3 separate regions of the Homo sapiens genome follow, and all the other regions are linked to region 3. The links are contacts of gene promoters, found by promoter capture Hi-C in blood cells and fetal thymus (Javierre and others, 2016). All regions are on one chromosome and are shown on one strand. The core of a region is centred on a gene start or on the middle of the fragment in contact, and the rest is flanking DNA. Distances in the headings are between cores, read along the strand shown.

What was found. The method cuts DNA at HindIII sites, captures the fragments that hold promoters and counts their contacts. A CHiCAGO score of 5 or more calls a contact.
Region 1: a fragment that was not itself captured here is called in contact with the fragment with the promoter of MESP2 in region 3 in 1 of 17 cell types (neutrophils); the score reaches 5.1 in neutrophils.
Region 2: a contact is called between a fragment that was not itself captured here and the fragment with the promoter of MESP2 in region 3, in 1 of 17 cell types (monocytes). The highest score is 5.2, in monocytes.

Annotation. Positions count from the first base shown.
Region 1 is chr15:90,020,901-90,023,600 of GRCh38, reverse strand. The region is part of intron 1 of ZNF710 (zinc finger protein 710); the gene reads right to left. Among named protein-coding and RNA genes, the nearest start is that of MIR3174, 15 kb to the right of the region's middle. The HindIII fragment of the contact is 8,896 bases long and covers 1-2,700 here.
Region 2 is chr15:89,994,604-89,997,303 of GRCh38, reverse strand. No RefSeq gene overlaps it. Among named protein-coding and RNA genes, the nearest start is that of ZNF710, 5.4 kb to the left of the region's middle. The HindIII fragment of the contact is 1,433 bases long and covers 709-2,141 here.
Region 3 is chr15:89,774,893-89,777,644 of GRCh38, reverse strand. It overlaps MESP2 (mesoderm posterior bHLH transcription factor 2), which reads right to left and starts at 1,313. Exons shown (of 2, transcript NM_001039958.2): 1 at 364-1,313. The coding sequence starts at 1,287. It overlaps LOC124903550 (a long non-coding RNA gene), which reads left to right and starts at 1,036. Exons shown (of 2, transcript XR_007064751.1): 1 at 1,036-1,355; 2 at 2,594-2,752. RefSeq lists a silencer at 890-1,049. The HindIII fragment of the contact is 2,896 bases long and covers 1-1,555 here.

The DNA of each region.
Region 1 (2,700 bases), core at 72-2,571, 250 kb before region 3:
GAGATCTTCCTGCCTCAGCCACCTGAGTCACAGGGATTACAGGCATGAGCCACCATGCCTGGTTCACCTGCAAGTGTGTTTATGTTCAATTTGATGCCACCTACAGGCACCAACTTCCTACCTGCTGCTCCATGCAGTGGGCTGAACCTCCAACTCAGAATGTAGCCAAGAACTTGCAGCTATCACTCTTTGGAAGAGTGCTACCCAAAGAAGGGCTGGCTTCCAGTTTGTCAGCCAGCAGAAGAACTTGTGCAAGGAGAATGGAAATGAGCTGGTGTTTTAGCTCTGATTTTTATCTAGAAGCCACCAGGCTGTCCAGTGGCTCACCTACCTCTGTAGCTCCTGCTTTACTTTTCTGGTAGGTCTTAGGAGCTGGGTGGCAGAGTGGTTCAATGGATGGAGTGTGAGCTTTGGACTCATCGCATCTGGGTTCAAATCCCACTACCACTCCTTATAGGTGCGAGGCCTTGGGAAAGCAGCCACCTTCATAAGCCTCAGTTTCCCTGTCCGTAAAATGGGGAGAGGAATGCTATTTCTCAGTGGGTCACTGAATTCAAAGAATCTAGATCAGTGTCCGGCCTATAGCAGCTACTTGACAGACATTAATTCTCCTTCTCTTCCCCTTGCCAGGACTGGGGAAAACCCTACCTGAAGATGTCATGTACTCCCGCAACATTTCAAAAGAGCTTTCTACATTCTCAAATGGATTCAGTAACTATAAATATGTATTAAGAACATGCCCCAGTGGAAAAATTTTACTTGGGGTTACTTCTCAGTGAGTTTTAAGAAACACAATCAAGCCCATTAATGTACTTTTGTAAATTATATGTAAACAGCTGGTGCAAAGCAGAAATTCTAGGCGAAATGAAAAGGAATTCAAGTAAAAGTGCCATATGTATTCCTCTGAGGGGTTTCTCGTCTCTCAGGTCAACATTTCCAAAGGGATTTCCCCATAGGGATTTAACAACACAAGCCCCAAGTCTCCCGGCTTATGCCAGAGTGATCCGCCATAGTGTTTCTTTGCTCAGAACCCACTAGTGGCCTCCCAGGCCTCAGGATGAAGCCCGAGCCTTTTGACACATTCTCAGTTGGTCCCTACCTATACCTGCAGCCTCATCTTCTACCATCTCACCCACAATCCCCCTCGGACTCCTCAAGTGTGTCCCTTGCTGCCTTTGCATGTTTGAGTCCCCCATGCCTCCTTTTTGTTTTGTTTTGTTTTTTTGAGACAGAGTCTCACTCTGTCCCCCAGGCTGGAGTGCAGTGGCGCAATCTCGGCTCACTGCAACCTCTGCCTCCCAGGTTCAAGCGATTCTCCTGCCTCAGCCTCCTGAGTAGCTGGGATTACAGGCATGCACCACCACACCCGGCTAATTTTTGTATTTTTAGTAGAGATGGGGTTTCACTATATTGGTCAGGCTGGTCTTGAACTCCTGACCTCGTGATTCGCTCGCCTCGGCCACCCAAAGTTCTGGGATTACAGGCGTGAGCCACTGTACCCAGCCTTGTTTTGTTTTTTGAGACAGAGTCTCGCTCTGTAACCCAGCCTGAAGTACAGTGGCTGGATCTCAGCTCACTGCAACCTCTGCCTCCCTGGTTCAAGCGATTCTCCTGCCTCAGCCTCCCAAGTAGCTGGGACTTACAGGCATGCGCCACCATGCCCGGCTAATTTTTGTATTTTTAGTAGAGACGGGTTTTGCTATGTTCACCTGGTCTTGAACTTCTGACCTCAGGTGATCCGCCTGCCTCAGCCTCCCAAAGTGCTGGGATTACAGGTGTGAGCCACCACGCCTGGTCCCCCATGCCGCCTTTGTCTGCTAGGACTCAGCTAGACACCACCTCCACCAAGCAGTCTTCCCTACAGCCCCCTGCCCCCAGCACATTCGAAGAGCTAACTTCCTGTGCTTTTGTGTCTATATCCAATATCTAGTACCCCTTCTGGACTGGGGGCTCACTGGGGAGAGAGACCATGCCATTCACCTTAATATGACAGAGTTTAACACATGGTAGGTAGTTGGTAAATGTTTGCTGATTGAATGAAGGAAGTAAGAGAGAACAAAGGGCGATTTTTCAGAGAACAGAGGATTCAGGATGGTGCAGGCCTGTCTCCTGACTTCATAGCACCGCGGTCCGCAGGTAATAGTGATAGCCATGGGTTATATACAAACACACAGTGTAGCTATGAAAAGTAGGCTCATGAACCCATTTTACAGGCTGTGAAACCAAGGCTTGGGGAGGCTGTGGGTCATCAGGGCTAGGAGATGGTGAGCCGAGGCTGAAAGCTGTAGGTCCTCTAATCCTGAGTCCTGTGACTTAAGGATGAGGTCCTCCCCTTGCCTCTGAGCCGCTTCAGCGGGGCTCTTTCAGGTCTGCACCTGCCTGTGGGGAAAAGAGCAGCTCTGTGTTTCTGTGTCTAATGCAGTTTCCATCCAACAAAGGACGCAGTTGAGAGAGCTCCCCAAGGCTAAGGCGGGTCCAGGTCAGAAGTCTGAACACACACTGGAGAAACGTTTGACTCCATAGCAAGGAACCCAGGGCTGAAACCCTCACCCTTGGAGCTGACGTCCCCCAGGCTGCTAAGGGGGGGGGGGTGCCACACCCTCTCTCACAGGACTCCAAAGTTGCCCACTACTCATGCCCTTGGTGGGTCCAACACTATCACAAATGGACCCCTGCTTTCCCCAAATCTTAATTGATTAA
Region 2 (2,700 bases), core at 176-2,675, 220 kb before region 3:
TATTTTTTCTTTTTGTTTTTTGGTACAGACTGGGTCTTGCTATGTTGCCCAGGCTGGTCTCGAACTCCTAGGTTCAAGCAATCCTCCTGCCTCAGCCTCTCAAAGTGTGGGGATTACTGGCATAAGCCACCTCACCCAGCCCACATTGTCATTCTTAGTGAATGATATTATTCCATGGTATGTGTGTATCTTAATTTGTTTAAACAAATTGTTAGACTCATGGGATGTTTGCAGGTTTTTCGCTTTTATGAACCTGCTTTGATAAACATACCTGTACAGCCACCTTAGTGCGAGGCTGGGCTAAGCACTTTATTTGAGGTAGGTGTCATTATCATTTTACAGAGGAGGAGGCTGAGGCACCGAAAAGCTTAAAAACTTCCTAAGGTCACTACCATGGAGTGTCTGAGCCAGAATGTGTAGACAGGGTTTCCCTTTGGGAATTCTCTTTCAACATGTTTTCCCCTCTTTAGAGTCTCCTCCACTTTCCATACCAATTTCCTCTCTTACAGATTACCTCCCTGTGAGAACCTGTCTGGACAGGTGACCCACTTCCTTTTGTGACACCTTTTTAACTTAAATAATGCCCACCTTCTAGGGTTGTTGGGAGAAGTGGAAGCCGATAATATATGATGTGTAATGTATGATACTGTATTTTGTAAATTTCAAAGCCTATGTGAACGTTAGAAGGTCCCAGTGAGGCCCTAAGCTTGCAGACATCACTATTTAGCCAAATCTCCTGACTTGCCCAAACCCAGCAAGGAATCCTCCAGATTCACACCAGAAAGAAAGAAATCAGCTTTTTTGATACAAAAGCAGTAAATGGAGGTCTCCCCTGGGCATTTCAGAAGCCCCAAAGCTGCCTCCCTAGAGCTGAAATTCAAAGGTAGGTTTATAATTATAAGGTTTATTAATCCTGATTTCCCTGATAGAGGATACATTCCTGCTGCAGACCCTTCCAGGATGTTCTAGCCATCTCTGAGAATCCCAGGAATCTTGTAAGCTGAGAAAAGGGATGAAACACAGCTCTTCGACGTTTCAGTTGACATGTTCACTAGAGTAATTTGCTGGGAGATTAGCAGGTGATTATTAATATCTGCTTCTTTCATTGCCAGAACCAAACAAACATTTTAAAAGATATTATTGGCTTTGCAATATCTAATATTCAACTTTTAATATCAAGACTCCCAACAGGAATCCAGCCAATGAAAGGCGAGGACCCCAAGGTTCAACTAGACAGGCGCTGCAGAAAGCAGAGGTGGACCTAGGGCTCCTAAAAGGCTGGTCTTAGCGGAAATGGCATGGGGGTTGGGAACTGGTAGAGAGTCACTGAGAGCTAAGCTCTAAGTGCCCACAGAATATGCACTGGGCAGCAATTCAAAATCCTCAGAAGGACCGGGTGCAGTGGTTCACGCCTGTAATCCCAGCACTTTGGGAGGGTGAGGTGGGCGGATCACTTCAGGTCAGGAGTTCAAGACCAGCCTGGCCAACATGGTGAAACCCTGTCCCTACTAAAGATACAAAAATTAGCTGGGTGTGGTGGCATGCGCCTGTAGTCCCAGCTACTCGGGAGGCTGAGGCAGGAGAAATGCTTGAGCCTGGGAAACAGAGGTTGAAGTGAGCCGAGATCGCGCCACCGCACTGCAGCCTGGGTGACAAAGCAAGATCTTCTTAAAAAAAAATATTAAATTAAAATTAAAATTAAAAAATAAACAATAAAAAAAATCCTCAGAAGTATAGTAACAATTTAGGAATACTCAGGGTTTTTGGGGAAAACCCAAAGAAAGCATAAGTTTGTGTGGATAGATGGGATGAACATGTGACTTACAAATTATTAGTCCAGGAGTAATGAAAGGGTGCATGAAATAATCCACCTCCTCTGAGCTCCCCTTGTGATTGAGGGTGCACAGTTACATGGCTTTATTCCCATCATGGCTTGAACCAATTAGTTAATTAATCCTATACACATAAATTTAAGAATAGAAATATGCCAAAAGAAACATGGGTCATTACAACTGCCAGCTTCACCGAAGAGTTACAAATAAATTAAATGTAAAAGCCACAGTGATGATACTTATGGCTACAGGAGGGCAAATTGGTACAAAGCCTGGAAAATAATTGGATATGAAAGATCAAGAGAAGCTTAAAAATTTATACCCTTTGATTCAGTAACTCGAATTCTAGAAATCTGTTCTTGAGAGAAATAATCAGCAATGTGAACAAAGATGTGTTAAGCATGTTTATGAAAGTATTATTTATATTGGCAAAAGTTAAAAATAGGAAAAAAGAAGGAAAGAAAGAAGGAAATAATCTAAATATCCAAAAATGATGGAAATGTTTAAAGAAGTTATGGCATGAACATCTGATGTAATACTATATAAGCTATTAAAAATCATGTTTTTGAAGAATAATGACTTGGGAAGTGTTTGTAATATGCTGAGTGAAATATAAAATTGCATATGCATCAGAATTATATATATTTAAAATTTGGTATATACATGTATACTTATCCGGAAAAATGCATGTAAAATGCCTGGAAGAAAATATACAAGTTTTTAAAAAGTTATTTCTGGCTGGGCTCAGTGGCTTACACCTGTAATCCCAGCACTTTGGGATGCCAAGGTGGGCAGATCACGTGAGGTCAGGAGTTTGAAACCAGCCTGGCCAACATGGTGAAACCTCATCTCTACTAAAAATACGAAA
Region 3 (2,752 bases), core at 64-2,563:
AGAAAACTTGAAATCACCAGCTCTAGGCCCATCTACTCAGGAAATGCTGCCCTTACCCTGGGACTTCCTTCCCCCACTGCAGTCTTAATAGCACTTGAAGCCAGCACGCCCACCCTGCTACTTTCCACCCTCTGAGAAAGTCGGCGGGCTCCCCCTCTTTCCCATGGCTGTGAAGACTGCTTGTGGTGACTGTGGAGATGGCCTTAACTTCCCAGGGTCCCATCTCTTCTCCCACGGAGCCGGGGGTTCCTTCCATTCTCCCCTCCGTTAGATAATCCTGGAGTAGATAAGCTGGGATCGAAAAAGTACGAGATTCTCTGCAGACTGGAGGCTGGGGAACACAGCAAGGGCCTCCACACATACCTGGTACACTGCGGCCAGCTCCAAAGTTGCTGGGGCCGCCGTCCAGGGCACTGGTGGGTTCCGGGGCTCTGGGGACGACTGCGTCCAGGGACAGCCTTGGGGTGGCGTCCAAAGAGACGCGTCGGAGGTTGTCCCTTGGGACGAATACGGGGGCGACTGTATCTTGGGGCAGTAAGGGGGTGTTGCCCAGGGATCCGTGTCGTGGACCCCCCTCCCCAGGCGCTCGGGTGCGGCTTGGGCTCCGGGGCAGGCGGACGGGGATCCCCAGGACGCCTCGGCGAGGACGGCGGAGACCAGGCCCGGCCTGCGCCCCTGCCCTTGCCCCTGTCCTTGCCCCTGTCCTTGCCCCTGCCCTTGCCCCTGCCCCTGCCCCTGCCCTTGCCCCTGCCCCTCCGCCTGCGTCTGCGCCTCTGCGGGGCCACGGTCGGGGCACAGCGGGCAGCCCCAAGGGGACCCCGCGTCCCCGCGCTGCCTGCGCCGGCACTGCAGACTCTCCTCGCTGAGACCCAGCACGGCCGATAGGTGGCCGATGTAGCGGATGGCCAGGCGCAGCGTCTCGATCTTGGTCAGGCTCTGGCCGGCCGGCGCCAAGGAGGGAGGCAGAAAGCGGCGCAACTCGTGCAGGGCGCGGGCCAGCGTGCGCATGCGCAGTTTCTCCCGCTCGCTGGCGCTCTGCCGCTGTCCGCCCGCTGGTCCGGTGCGCGCTCGTCTGGGCGTCGTCGCGGCTGCCTCTGCGGCTCGGGAGCTGCAGCTCGGAGGCTGTGGCTGCGGGAGTCCGCGGGCGCCGTCGCAGGGGCACGAACCCGACGAATCGGAGGAGGAGGCCGGGGACGTGGAGTCCCAGTGGCCGGCCCAGCCCCAGCCCTGGGCGAAGATCCAGTGGTCGTGGCCGAGGAGGCTCTGCGGAGGAGGCGACTGGGCCATGGCCGGGCTGCAGGCTCTGGGAGGCTGGGTTGGCCACCTCCAGGCCTGAGCTTTTATGTTGACCAAAGGTGCGAGGTGGCCCCCCGCCAGGTTGCAGAGAGGTGTCAAAACCCACAGAGCCCAGGGAAAGTCTGGGCAGGGGGCCCCTGGGAAAGCGGGCCCATTTGCGGAGGTGTGGATTCTGACTCCTTGGGGGCTCTAAATGGAGGCCCCTGCAGCCCGGGAAGTATGGGAGGGACAATTCGCATCTGGATGGAGCTGCTAAGCTTCTCACCACGCTCCCACCCACGCCCCTGCCCCGTCCACTGCTCACGGTGAGTGCCCGGGAGCCCAACAGAGGCGGGTAGTGCCATGGTCTGTGGGTGCCTCAGGGACCCCGTGAGGAGTGGGTGCCTCTCTCATCACTAACCTCCCGGAGGTCTGTGCCCAGGACGCTGTGCCTACTGTTGTATTAAATAAGGCATCAAGACAAGCCCGGAGGGCCCTGCCCATGGTGGCTGAGGAAGAAGTGCAGGTGGGCCCTTCTGGGGTCCCCAAAATCCACAGTTTCTGATTTGTTGAGTGACACACCAAGAAAGGCATCTCACTGCCCATGGTCTGTATCTACTCTTGAGAAATGGAATAGATTAGGTTGGGGAAGAGGAGTTGGGTACCCTAGGTGATGAAAACCGGCGAAAATGGGTCCCCAAGCCGGCCTCTTTATTGGCTGTGACCTTGGTTAAGTTATTTAGCTCCTCTGAGCCTCAGATTCCCTCATCGGTACCAATAGTGATACAAAATACCTATGCCTAGGATGGTTCCTGGACTAAGTACAGCGATCCCTGTAAAGCACTTAGGCCCTGGCAAGTGAGCTGAAGGTTTGCCATGATCGTTTTATAAAGAAGGTACTGGCCAGGCATGGTGGCTGATGCCTGTAATCCCAGCACTTTGGGAGGCCGAGGTGGATGGATCACCTGAGGTCATAAGTTCGAGACCAGCCTGGCCAACATGCTGAAACCCTGTCTCTACTAAAAATACAAAAACCAGCCGAGTGTGGTGGCAGGCACCTGTAATCCCAGCTACTCGGGAGGCTGAGGCAGGAGAATCGCTTGAACCCGGGAGGCGGAGGTTGCAGTGAGCTGAGATCGTGCCACTGCACTCCAGCCTGGGCGAGTGCGAGACTCCGTCTCAAAAATAAATAAATAAGTAAATAAATAAATAAATAAATAAAATAAAAGGAAAGTACTTAGATTTCAAGGCACTAATGGACTTTATTCATTTAATTCATATTTATTTATTTATTCTCTTTTTTTTGTTTTTGAAACAGACTTGGTCTATCGTCCAGGCTGGAGTGCAGTGGCACCATCTCAGCTCACCGCAACCTCTGCCTCCTGGGTTCAAGTGATTCTTCTGCCTCAGCCTCTCAAGTAGGTGGGACTACAGGTATGCACCATCACGTCTGGCTAATTGTTGTATTTTTAGTAGA